Linked DNA regions of Homo sapiens: all the other regions are linked to region 1. Evidence: promoter capture Hi-C in 16 types of primary human blood cells and fetal thymus (Javierre and others, 2016). All regions are on one chromosome and are shown on one strand. Each heading gives the region's core, a stretch centred on a gene start or on the middle of the fragment in contact. The rest is flanking DNA. Distances are from core to core; before and after follow the strand shown. Region 1 holds the start of DDX23 (DEAD-box helicase 23). Region 2 holds the start of CDK4 (cyclin dependent kinase 4). Region 3 holds the start of SCAT2 (S-phase cancer associated transcript 2).

Evidence for each region. The method cuts DNA at HindIII sites, captures the fragments that hold promoters and counts their contacts. A CHiCAGO score of 5 or more calls a contact.
Region 2: the fragment with the promoter of CDK4 here is called in contact with the fragment with the promoter of DDX23 in region 1 in 1 of 17 cell types (monocytes); the score reaches 7.6 in monocytes.
Region 3: the fragment with the promoter of SCAT2 here is called in contact with the fragment with the promoter of DDX23 in region 1 in 1 of 17 cell types (neutrophils); the score reaches 5.7 in neutrophils.

The regions. Positions count from the first base shown.
Region 1 is chr12:48,850,601-48,853,869 of GRCh38, forward strand. DDX23 (DEAD-box helicase 23) reads right to left here and starts at 1,563. Exons shown (of 17, transcript NM_004818.3): 1 at 1,484-1,563. LOC105369755 (a long non-coding RNA gene) reads left to right here and starts at 1,121. Exons shown (of 2, transcript XR_944925.3): 1 at 1,121-1,214; 2 at 1,450-1,949. RefSeq lists enhancers at 1,419-1,608, 2,488-2,697. The HindIII fragment of the contact is 5,632 bases long and covers 1-3,269 here.
Region 2 is chr12:57,751,060-57,754,328 of GRCh38, forward strand. It overlaps CDK4 (cyclin dependent kinase 4), which reads right to left and starts at 1,251. Exons shown (of 8, transcript NM_000075.4): 1 at 1,116-1,251; 2 at 441-677; 3 at 148-283; 4 at 1-31. The coding sequence starts at 658. RefSeq lists silencers at 401-540, 1,271-1,350, 1,581-1,700 and an enhancer at 877-1,610. The HindIII fragment of the contact is 8,675 bases long and covers 1-3,269 here.
Region 3 is chr12:54,260,908-54,264,176 of GRCh38, forward strand. It overlaps SCAT2 (S-phase cancer associated transcript 2), which reads left to right and starts at 1,708. Exons shown (of 2, transcript NR_157844.1): 1 at 1,708-2,030. The region is part of intron 1 of CBX5 (chromobox 5); the gene reads right to left. The HindIII fragment of the contact is 3,994 bases long and covers 1-3,269 here.

The DNA.
Region 1 (3,269 bases), core at 313-2,812:
CAGAATTGAGCTCTGGAACACTTTAACAGGAGTTAGCCACGGGATGAACCAGAGAAAAAGACTGAAAAGAACTAGCAGCCAGTGAGAAAAGACAAAGAAAAGCATGGCAACGAAGAAGCCAAAAACATGTTTCAAGGAGGGAGGGGTCAACTGTGTCAAGTACCACCGAAGTGGAGAGGGAATAAGGGACAGGGAAGTAACCACTGAATTTGGAAAAATGGAGATTATTGGTGACCTTGACAAGAGCTGTTTCAGTTGCATTGCGGGAATGGAAGCCTGAGTGGAATGAGTTTGGAAGAGAATGAAAAATGAGAAGAAGACAGTAAATACAGGCAACTTTTATTACAGGTTCTATTATCACAAGGGCCAAATAACCAGGCTGACTCTGGCCATGCTTCCCAGCAGCCTTCCTCTCAAACCTCCAGATCTTCAGGTCCTCAGTTCTTGCAGGGCAGGGGCACATTCTTTTTTTTCACTCAATGACGTATTTAACAAGCATCTACTGTACGCAAGGCACAGTGCTAGGTGCTATGTGAGTTACAAAAATAAATTCTGTTCACAGGAAGTGTTTAGAACAACAGGGTTATGAGGTCGGACGCGGTGGCTCACGCATGTAATCCTAACACTTTAAGAGGCCGAGACAGGTGGATTGCCTGAGCTCAGGAGTTCGAGACCAGCCTGGGGAACACGGTGAAACCCCGTCTCTACTAAAAATACAAAAAATTAGCCGGGCGTGGCGGCGTGCGCCTGTAATCACAGCTACTCGGGAGGCTGAGACAGGAGAATCGCTTGAACCCGGGAGGCGGAGGTTGCAGAGAACCAAGATCGTGCCATTGCACTCCAGCCTAGGCGACAGAGCGAGACTCCGTCTCAAAAAAAAAAAGAAAAGAAAAGAAAAAAAAGAACAATAGGGGGTATGAGACACATACCAAGAAGAGTATCAAGGCTCAGATGTAGTAATACAGGTGTTCAAAGGCGTTTCCTTTCACTTGTAAAAGGTGATGTGGAAGGCTTGGAAGAGGAAGTGACGCTTGAGCTTTTAAGTATAAGTAGAATTTTAAGATATGTAATTAAGGACGCGGAAAAGAAGTCATTCCCGGCAAAAGAAATAATACGGCCGGCGCAGAGGCGGGAAAACATGGACTGACTGCGAGAGAAAAGCCAGAGTTCCAGTTTGGCTGCACCAAAGGCTACTTTAAGCATGAAAGAATAAGGTCAGACTGGGGGTATCAGAGGCGCTGTGCCCATAGGCAGAGTCCTGGGAGGAAAATATCGTGCAGGGACGTGGCCTGTGCCCGGAGGAGCCAACACTACCCCTGGGGCCCGCGCCCCTTCACTCCAGCCCGCCCGAGCTTCCCGGGTTCATGCCCCTTCTCTGAGGCGTTCTTTCCCGCCTCATCCAGGAGGCAGGGGCCACCGCCGTGCCCTGACTCTAGCCCTTTCTGTAAGCTCGTGGGAACCGCCTCCACCGCCCGGGACTCACCACCCTGAGTCTGAACCGCCCAACGCGGCCTCAACGTCGCGGAGCCGTCGCCATCTTTCCCGTTTCCTGGTCGCGGAGATGAACACCCCCCACCCCCCCGGCCGCGAGGCAAGCTGGGAAGGCGAGTTCCTGGAGCTGGGCGGCACAGGCCGACACTGAGGCCTGGAAACTACCAATCCCAGAATGCATGACTTGAGCGCCGGCCCCAGGCTGCGGGGTCTGCCGGGCAATGTGGTTTGCCAGACGTTAGCGTCCGGGAAGGAAGAGTTTTTCGCCAATAGGCTTTCGGCATTAGGTTCTCCCGCCGAGCACCCTTCTTGGAATCGGCTGGTCTTCCTAGAAACTACGGTCTATGACTGTCCTTGCCCGTGGCTTACAGTGGAGGAATTTAAGGGCTTCCTGAGATATCTGTAGTACGTAATTATAGCTAACAACCGCAGTAACAATAAATACCATTCGTGGAAAAGCGGTTTTTATAATAATTCTGTGAGAATGGGGCTAGCCCCATTTTACAGTTGGACAAACTAAAGATCAGGTTACCGGAGTAGGTTCACAAGGAGGGTGATGCAGTTCTCCATTGTGTGTGGAACTATCCCAGGCTTAGGAGGACGTTTTAGCAACCTTGGCCCCTGCAGCCGGGTGAATGCCATAACAACCCCCAGTTATTGTTACAGCTCCAAATGAGCCCACACAATGGGCTCTAAAGTCCTCCCGGAAGGATGGTATCTCCTGGGCTCTAGCACCTGTTTTCTCAACATTCCAGATGGAACCCTGGTTTCCTCAATTTCTTGCCCTTTGGAATGTGACCAATTGTTGAGCTATCTTGGTATTTTTGCTTCTTTCTTCCCCCAGATTCCCCTACTTCAGTCTTCCACTGAGTTTTGTTGTTGCTGTTGTTGTTGTTGTTGATGTTGTTGTTGTTGTTTTAACCTCAAATCGTAAGTTCACTTTGTGTTTCTCTTTGGTCTTATGGGTTCATAACTCTTTCCCTCAAAACAAAACAAAACATTGCAGTTGCGGAAACGGTTTAGATAACCAGAAGTATCTCGGACCTCCCTTCCCATTTTGCCAGCAGCAGGTTTGTTGCTTCAATTCCACATGGCTGTAGGTCTGCCTTTTCTCTCTGAATATGCCCAAGCTCTCAAGCAGAGCCTCAGGATAGACCCAAGTAATCCTAAAGCCCTGAGCATCACGTACAATGGCCCAAAGTAACCCTCGGAGACACACACTTCTCTTAGAACCTGCAGCCTTTCACCTCCCAGCTTCTACTCCAGAGAGAACGCAAGGGAAAGAAGAGAGCTCTGAGATCTGTTAGGTGTAATTCACCACAAAAGCACGAGAGGGCGCTCGACTCACAGATTCACAGATTAAACTAAGAATCAGACCAACCATGGTAGGCCAGAATCTTCAAAAACTGCAGCCACTTTTTATTGAGAATCTTCTAAGTGCTCAGCTCTGGGCTGGACACTTAACCTACCTTATTTGTTTTACTTAGTTCTCATAGCAGTATGAGATGAGTGCTATCTCCATTTTACTGGTAAGGAGATTGTGGCCCAGAAAGAGTAATTATGCCTTCAAAGGCCACATAGTTAAAAGAATGGGCCAGGTGAGGTGGCTCATGCTTGTATCTCAGCACTTTGGGAGGCCAAGACAGGAGGACTGCTTGAGCCCAGGAGGTCGAGGTCGCAGTGAGCCATGCTCGTGCCACTGCACTACAGCCTGGGTGACAGAGCAAAACCCTGACTGGAAAAAAAAAAAAAAGAAAGAAAGAAAAAAGAAAAGAAAA
Region 2 (3,269 bases), core at 1-2,500, 8.9 Mb after region 1:
CTAGGCCTCTTAGAAACTGGCGCATCAGATCCTAGTTTCAAAGGGGAGGTACAGATGCACTGGAAACTAGGCACCATACCTGAAATCCCAGAAGGTTCTACTACAAAGGTCCCAATCCACCTCTCAATGCCTACCAACCCCACTCACCTTGATCGTTTCGGCTGGCAAGCCTGGTGGGGGTGCCTTGTCCAGATATGTCCTTAGGTCCTGGTCTACATGCTCAAACACCAGGGTTACCTTGATCTCCCGGTCAGTTCGGGATGTGGCACAGACGTCCATCAGCCTGACCAGAGTAAATGCTCACTTTTCAATCCCCTTTAACCCAACATGGCCTCTCATTATTTCCTCAGGGTCCCCACTTCTCTACAGATCATCACACCCCACCTATAGGCTGTCTTTTCCCTTTACTCCCCACGCCCAACCCTCCACCACCTTCTCACCGGACAACATTGGGATGCTCAAAAGCCTCCAGTCGCCTCAGTAAAGCCACCTCACGAACTGTGCTGATGGGAAGGCCTCCTCCACCTCCTCCTCCATTGGGGACTCTCACACTCTTGAGGGCCACAAAGTGGCCACTGTGGGGATCACGGGCCTTGTACACTGTCCCATAGGCACCGACACCAATTTCAGCCACTGGCTCATATCGAGAGGTAGCCATTCTCAGATCAAGGGAGACCCTACAATCACAGACTCCTATCACCAAAAGTCGCTTACAGAGTTAGGATGGTATGAGCCTGCAGCAACAAAGGGACTCCCAAAAAAAAAGCGCAAAGAACACCACCAGCATCCCATCCCCCGCTCCCAGTCTTCCTTGGGGCCGGCCCCAGAGATAACACAATGACTCAATACCAACCCCTCCAGCCACGTGAGGCCCTGCAATAGAAAACGCTTTTTCCTTTGGGACAATCGCGCCCCGCACAAAGATCACACATGACACATGCCTTGCATCGAAGATCCTACACCTCAGTCCCTAAAATTATACTTTCCCATGACCACAAAGGCCCCACTTCCCGCCCTTGAGCGACCCTTCCATAACCAGCTCGCGAAACGAACGCGTGGAAAGCTGTGAGGGGGGCGGGCACTGGTTCTCATTCCTGGGAAGGGACTGCACTTACCTCACGCCAGCCCGGGGTGCTGTGGGGGCGGCCCGTTATCGGGGCCCCGGAGCCGGTTCCTACGGCCCCATACACCCGAGCTCGGTCCGGAGCAGCTGGACGCAGAGGGCCCGACCATAGACACAGGCCGCAAGCTAGAGAGGCCCCCTCACCCCCACCCTCACCATGTGACCAGCTGCCAAAGAGGCGCGCGGAAACTGGGAGGGCGGGGCGAACGCCGGACGTTCTGGGCACGTGACCGCCACCCATGCGCTGAGGGGCGGACAGGAGGTGCTTCGACTGGGAGGAGGGCGAAGAGTGTAAGGGGGCGGAGGGGCGATGGCAGCCACGTGATCTGTTGCTATCACACGTGACCGCTTGACATTGCTCTGAGGAGCAGAGGTGTGGCTACGCGGCGGGCACGTGACTGGCTGCCACAACCCCCGCTGCAGGGGGGGAGCGGTGAGGGGGACAAGAGAGGGTGGAGCCCGAGGCGGTGCCATGGCAACCTAGGCCACCCAGAGCCCAACTCCCGGCTGAAGGATTGTCTCACTACCGGTCTGAAGGCTGAACTCCAGTCTCACTACCGGTCTTTCAGCCTGTCTGCATTGGGGAGGGGGTGGGAGTTGGGGTACCAGAGGTGATGCTGTCACCTTTTCGCTCCACCATGAGAAAACATACTCTCATTTGTGTCATTGTTTCATTCATTAATTCTACAACATTTTACTGAGTGCTTGCTTCCAGTGTGTATGTGGGTTTTTATTTTGTTTTTGGTGTCTGTCACTGGCCCTTTAAAGTAGTGGTACGACTATCTATAAAGATGTAGCCAACAATGGGGTCTTCTACAATAGGGAGTAAACAATGCCCATTTGAGGGCAAAACTACGATTAAAGGATGACGGAAGGCAGATTAATACAGTAATCCAACAGGCTCAGTGACAAGGTAATCCTCTCACTTTTCCAACTTCCAAACCTCCCTGGGAGTGTTAATGCAAAGACCTGAGGCCATCTGGCAGAGAAGTTATTGATGAGCAGGAGACAGGAATACTTGACCTTTTAAGTTTTTTTTTTTTTTCCAGTAGGAAGGTTCTATGATTATGTGATATTTGTATGTGTGCATATATGCTTCTATGTATATATGTATGTATATGATATTATTTATCACATCATATATAAGACGGATACAGGATTGCACATGTGCAAGAAAGTTACCACCACACCCCCTGCACCCTCCAGACCACCACAATGAATGAAAATGACATGCCCCCTTCTGCAAACCTTGTGACTACTCATTTGGAGTTATTGTGCTTCCCTCTTTTTCCCTAGTGCCGCTTTCTTAGCACTTAGCACTGTCCAGAACACACTTGTTCCCAAATGGCCTCTGCCCAGACACCTAGGTAGACACAAGTAGATTTCTCCTACTTTGTTTTATTGGCTCCAAGGTCTTTATCTCCCAGCCCTTTGGGGGTATGGGAGTAAAGGAGGAAAGCGGTTAGTGTCTCATTTGTGAGAATTTGTCTAAAATCTAAAGCCATTTTATTACCCTATTTGCCACTCCTTCCACTCTAACTTCTGTTTTCCTTAACCATCTGGCTGAGAATATAAGAGTTCAAACTAGAAGATGAATATAAACCATGACTTAGAGCAAAATAGAATACATATTAATACAGATGCCTCCTCTTTCCATCCTGATACTTGTAGCCCTGGGCCCCTCCTGGCAAGGGCAGCTGGAACACTAGTAAGAAAAACCTCAAGGACTGAACTGACTAAGGGGCTCAAGAGGTGAATGTTTTATTGGCTACCTTGCTAGGGGTGGGTGCTTTGTAAGCCTTCTGGAAGGCTAAGATAATTGTCTGTGAGTTTTTCAAACTCCCTTCCCACACCAGCATTCCCCACTTCAGCCTCACCTTCCACATAAGACCTTCACAGCTTACTGTCTTTGCAACAGAAGACGTCCTCTCTGTCTGCTTGGGTCCCAGCCCCTTTTTCTGATTCATTCATTAGTCCATCCAAAACATTTGAATACTTCATGGGAACATTACTGTCTCTCCATCACTTTCTATTGAGGAACCTTAATTTGGCAGTCTGTCCCAGGCTCTGTCCCCTCCCTTCTTCTGTTAATTACTCTTTCACTAATTAAATTTTTTCCCAGTATGTTTGACCCAATGAGCTCCCC
Region 3 (3,269 bases), core at 458-2,957, 5.4 Mb after region 1:
GAGCCAGGAACAGTGGCTCACACCTGTAATCCCAGCACTTTGGGAAGCCGAGGCAGGTGGATTACCTGAGGTCAGGAGTTCGAGACCAGCCTGACCAACATGGTGACGCCCCATCTCTACTAAAAATGCAAAAATTAGCCAGACATAGTAGCACTTGCCTGTAATCCCAGCTACTTGGGAGGCTAAGGCAGGAGAATCGCTTGAACCTGGGAGGCAGAGGTTGCAGTGAGCCGAGACTGCGCCACTGCACTCCAGCCTGAGCAACAAGAGCGAAACCGTCTCAAAAAAAAAAAAAAAAGAACTCAGTTGAGAAGAAGCACAATGGTGACTATTACGACTGTCAAACAGAAGAAACCATAGGGTGTAAGACCAAAGTAGAAATTTTTTTCTTTTTTCTTTTTTTTTTTTGAGACGGAGTCTCGCTCTGTCACCAGGCTAGAGTGCTGTGGCGCCATCTCGGCTTACTGCAACCTCCAACTCCCTGGTTCAAGGGATTCTCCTGCCTCAGCCTCCCAAGTAGCTGGGATTACAGGCATGTGCCACCACGCCCAGCTAATTTTTGTATTTTTAGCAGAGATGGGGTTTCATCATGTTGGCCAGGATGGTCTCGATTTCCTCATCTTGTGATCCGCCCACCTGGGCCTCCCAAAGTGCTGGGATTACAGGCATGAGACACTGCACCCGGCCAGAAATTTTTTAATTACAAAAGATTTCCTCAGATTTGAATGGACCATCAGCAAACCTCCAATTAAAAACGGCATTTTTCAACTCTTACCTTTTAACTTTTCATAATTAAGGGATATAAAAACAATAACAAACATTTAAATAGGATCCTGACTCTGATTAACTTGCCATGTGTTATCCTGAGTAAATAAATTTTCCATCTAACCCCGGCATCATTTAAACGGGCTAAATAAATCTGTACTACCTGCCCTACGTACCTCCGAGGGAAAAAGTGAGTTTATGTTGAAACCAAAGATCTATTAAGTCCCCCAAAAAGAACCTTCTGTAAAAATATGTCAGGGCTGAATACAACAGCAGAAGAAAATATGTGACCTTCCAAATTCCTAAGCTAGTAAACCATATCACATGCAGTAACTCCTGCAGCTCAACACATTAGTAGATAGCAAGAAAAAGAGGAACAGTGTCTTTGTTAACTAGGCACTGGAAAACGAATAAACCTTCAGAGAACAGGGTAGGTACGTTCTCTCTCAAGGGCAAAATACTTATTCCTTAAAACTCAGACAAACTTTAAAGATGGCAGAATGAAAAGACTAATAGTAACTCTGTGAAGGAATAAGGAACAGGAGAGAATGACAGCAATACTAACATTTTGGTGAAACCTTTCAGAGAAAGAAAAGTGAATTTAATGAGGAAAGAGACAAAAATATTCTGGTGTCCACCCCTCCCCACAAAACATCAGAAAATAAAGATTGAGTTCAATTCCCTCCTTTCCACCCTTAAGAACTGCCTAAAGGGCACATGGGCCGAGGTCCTTTTCTTTTTGGGAAATGGGTTTTGTAACCACTGACAAATCGAATTGGGCCTGATGCCAGGAGTCAGAGTACAACCATAATATTCTTTAAAGGATGGCATGCAATTGTCTTGTAAATCTCCTAGACAGTCACAGATCAGAAGCTGGCAAGGATGACGACATAGTTCTGATGGAATGTGTCTTATCTTAACCTTGAAGTTACAGATCTGCTCAGGAGCAGCAGTAAGAAATGAGAAATGCACTCAGACATCGGAGGGGACATAATTCTCTTTTAGACAGTGTGACCCGGAGTATTAGGGTCAAATGAAACACAAAGCCAGTCAAACAATTTAAGGGCTAGAGCCTAGACCAGATAAAGCATCAAGACTGGTGGTTCACACTGAGCTTAGGAGGAGGGAGCTTTCCAGCATGAGAAATGAGACATGGCTGGCAGGATGATGGAGTGATTAAGATAGAATCCCAATACCATGACAGAGGAAAAGAAGATGAGCCTCTGAACACAACCTTATCCTTGTGGAAATCTCCAAGGGAAAGGGTGAGTAGCTTCTCAAATTTCTGGAGTCTTTCAGGCATAACAGCTCTCAGCCTTCTCTCTTAAATATACATAGGAACTATCTGGTAAAGCTACCAATAACTATAGATTACAGCACCTAAGGCCCATTGAGATGAGAAAAGAGGCTGGGCGCGGTGGCTCACGCCTGTAATCCCAGCACTTTGGTAGGCCGAGGCGGGCAGATCTCCTGAGGTCAGGAGTTCCAGACCAACCTGGCCAACATGGTGAAACCCTGTCTCTACTAAAAATACAAAAATTAGCCAGGTGTGGTGGCAGGCACCTGTTATCTCAGCTACTTGGGAGGCTGAGGCAGGAGAATCACTTGAACCCAGAAGATGGAGGTTGCAGTGAGCCGAGATCAAGCCATTGCACTCCAGCCTGGACAACAAGGGCAAAACTCCGTCTCAAAAAAAAACCAAACAAAAAACTTATCAGTCCTCAGCAATTACAGAGAGGGCATCACAAGCAAGCTAGGGCAACCCAGAAAAACAAGAGGTAGGCCGGCACAGCGGCTCTCGCCTGTAATCCCAGCACTTTGGGAAGCCAAGGCAGGTGGATCATGAGGTCAGGAGTTTGAGACCAGCCTGGCCAACATGGTGAAACCCCGTCTCTACTAAAGACACAAAAAAATTAGTCAGGCGTGGTGTAATCCCAGCTACTCGGGAGGCTGAGGCAGTTACGCACCTGTAATCCCAGCTACTCAGGAGGGTGAGGCAGGAGAATCGCTTAAACGGGAGGCGGAGGTTGCAGTGAGCTGAGATCGCGCCACTGCACTCCAGCCTGGGCAACAGGGTAAGACTCTATCTCAAAAAAAAAAAAAAAAAAAAAGAAAAGAAAAAAGAAAAAAAAAGGCCAGGCGCAGTGGCTCACGAGGTCAGGAGATTGAGACCATCCTGGCTAACATGGTGAAACCCTGTCTCTACTAAAAATACAAAAAATTAGCCAGATGTGGTGGCGGGAGCCTGTAGTCCCAGCTACTGGGGAGGCTGAGGCAAAAGAATGGTGTGAACCCAGGAGGCGGGGCTTGCAGTGAGCCGAGATCGCACCACTGCACTCCAGCCTGGGAGACAGCGTGAGACTCCGTCTCAAATAAAAAAGAGGTAATGGTTAGCCCTCAGCATTGACCGTTTAATGCTGGAAGAACCCACATAGGGTCCCTGGTATCTGTCTGCTTTGTCCAGTTCAGGTTCTACTCTCATCCCTCCAGTCATTTCTTTTTTG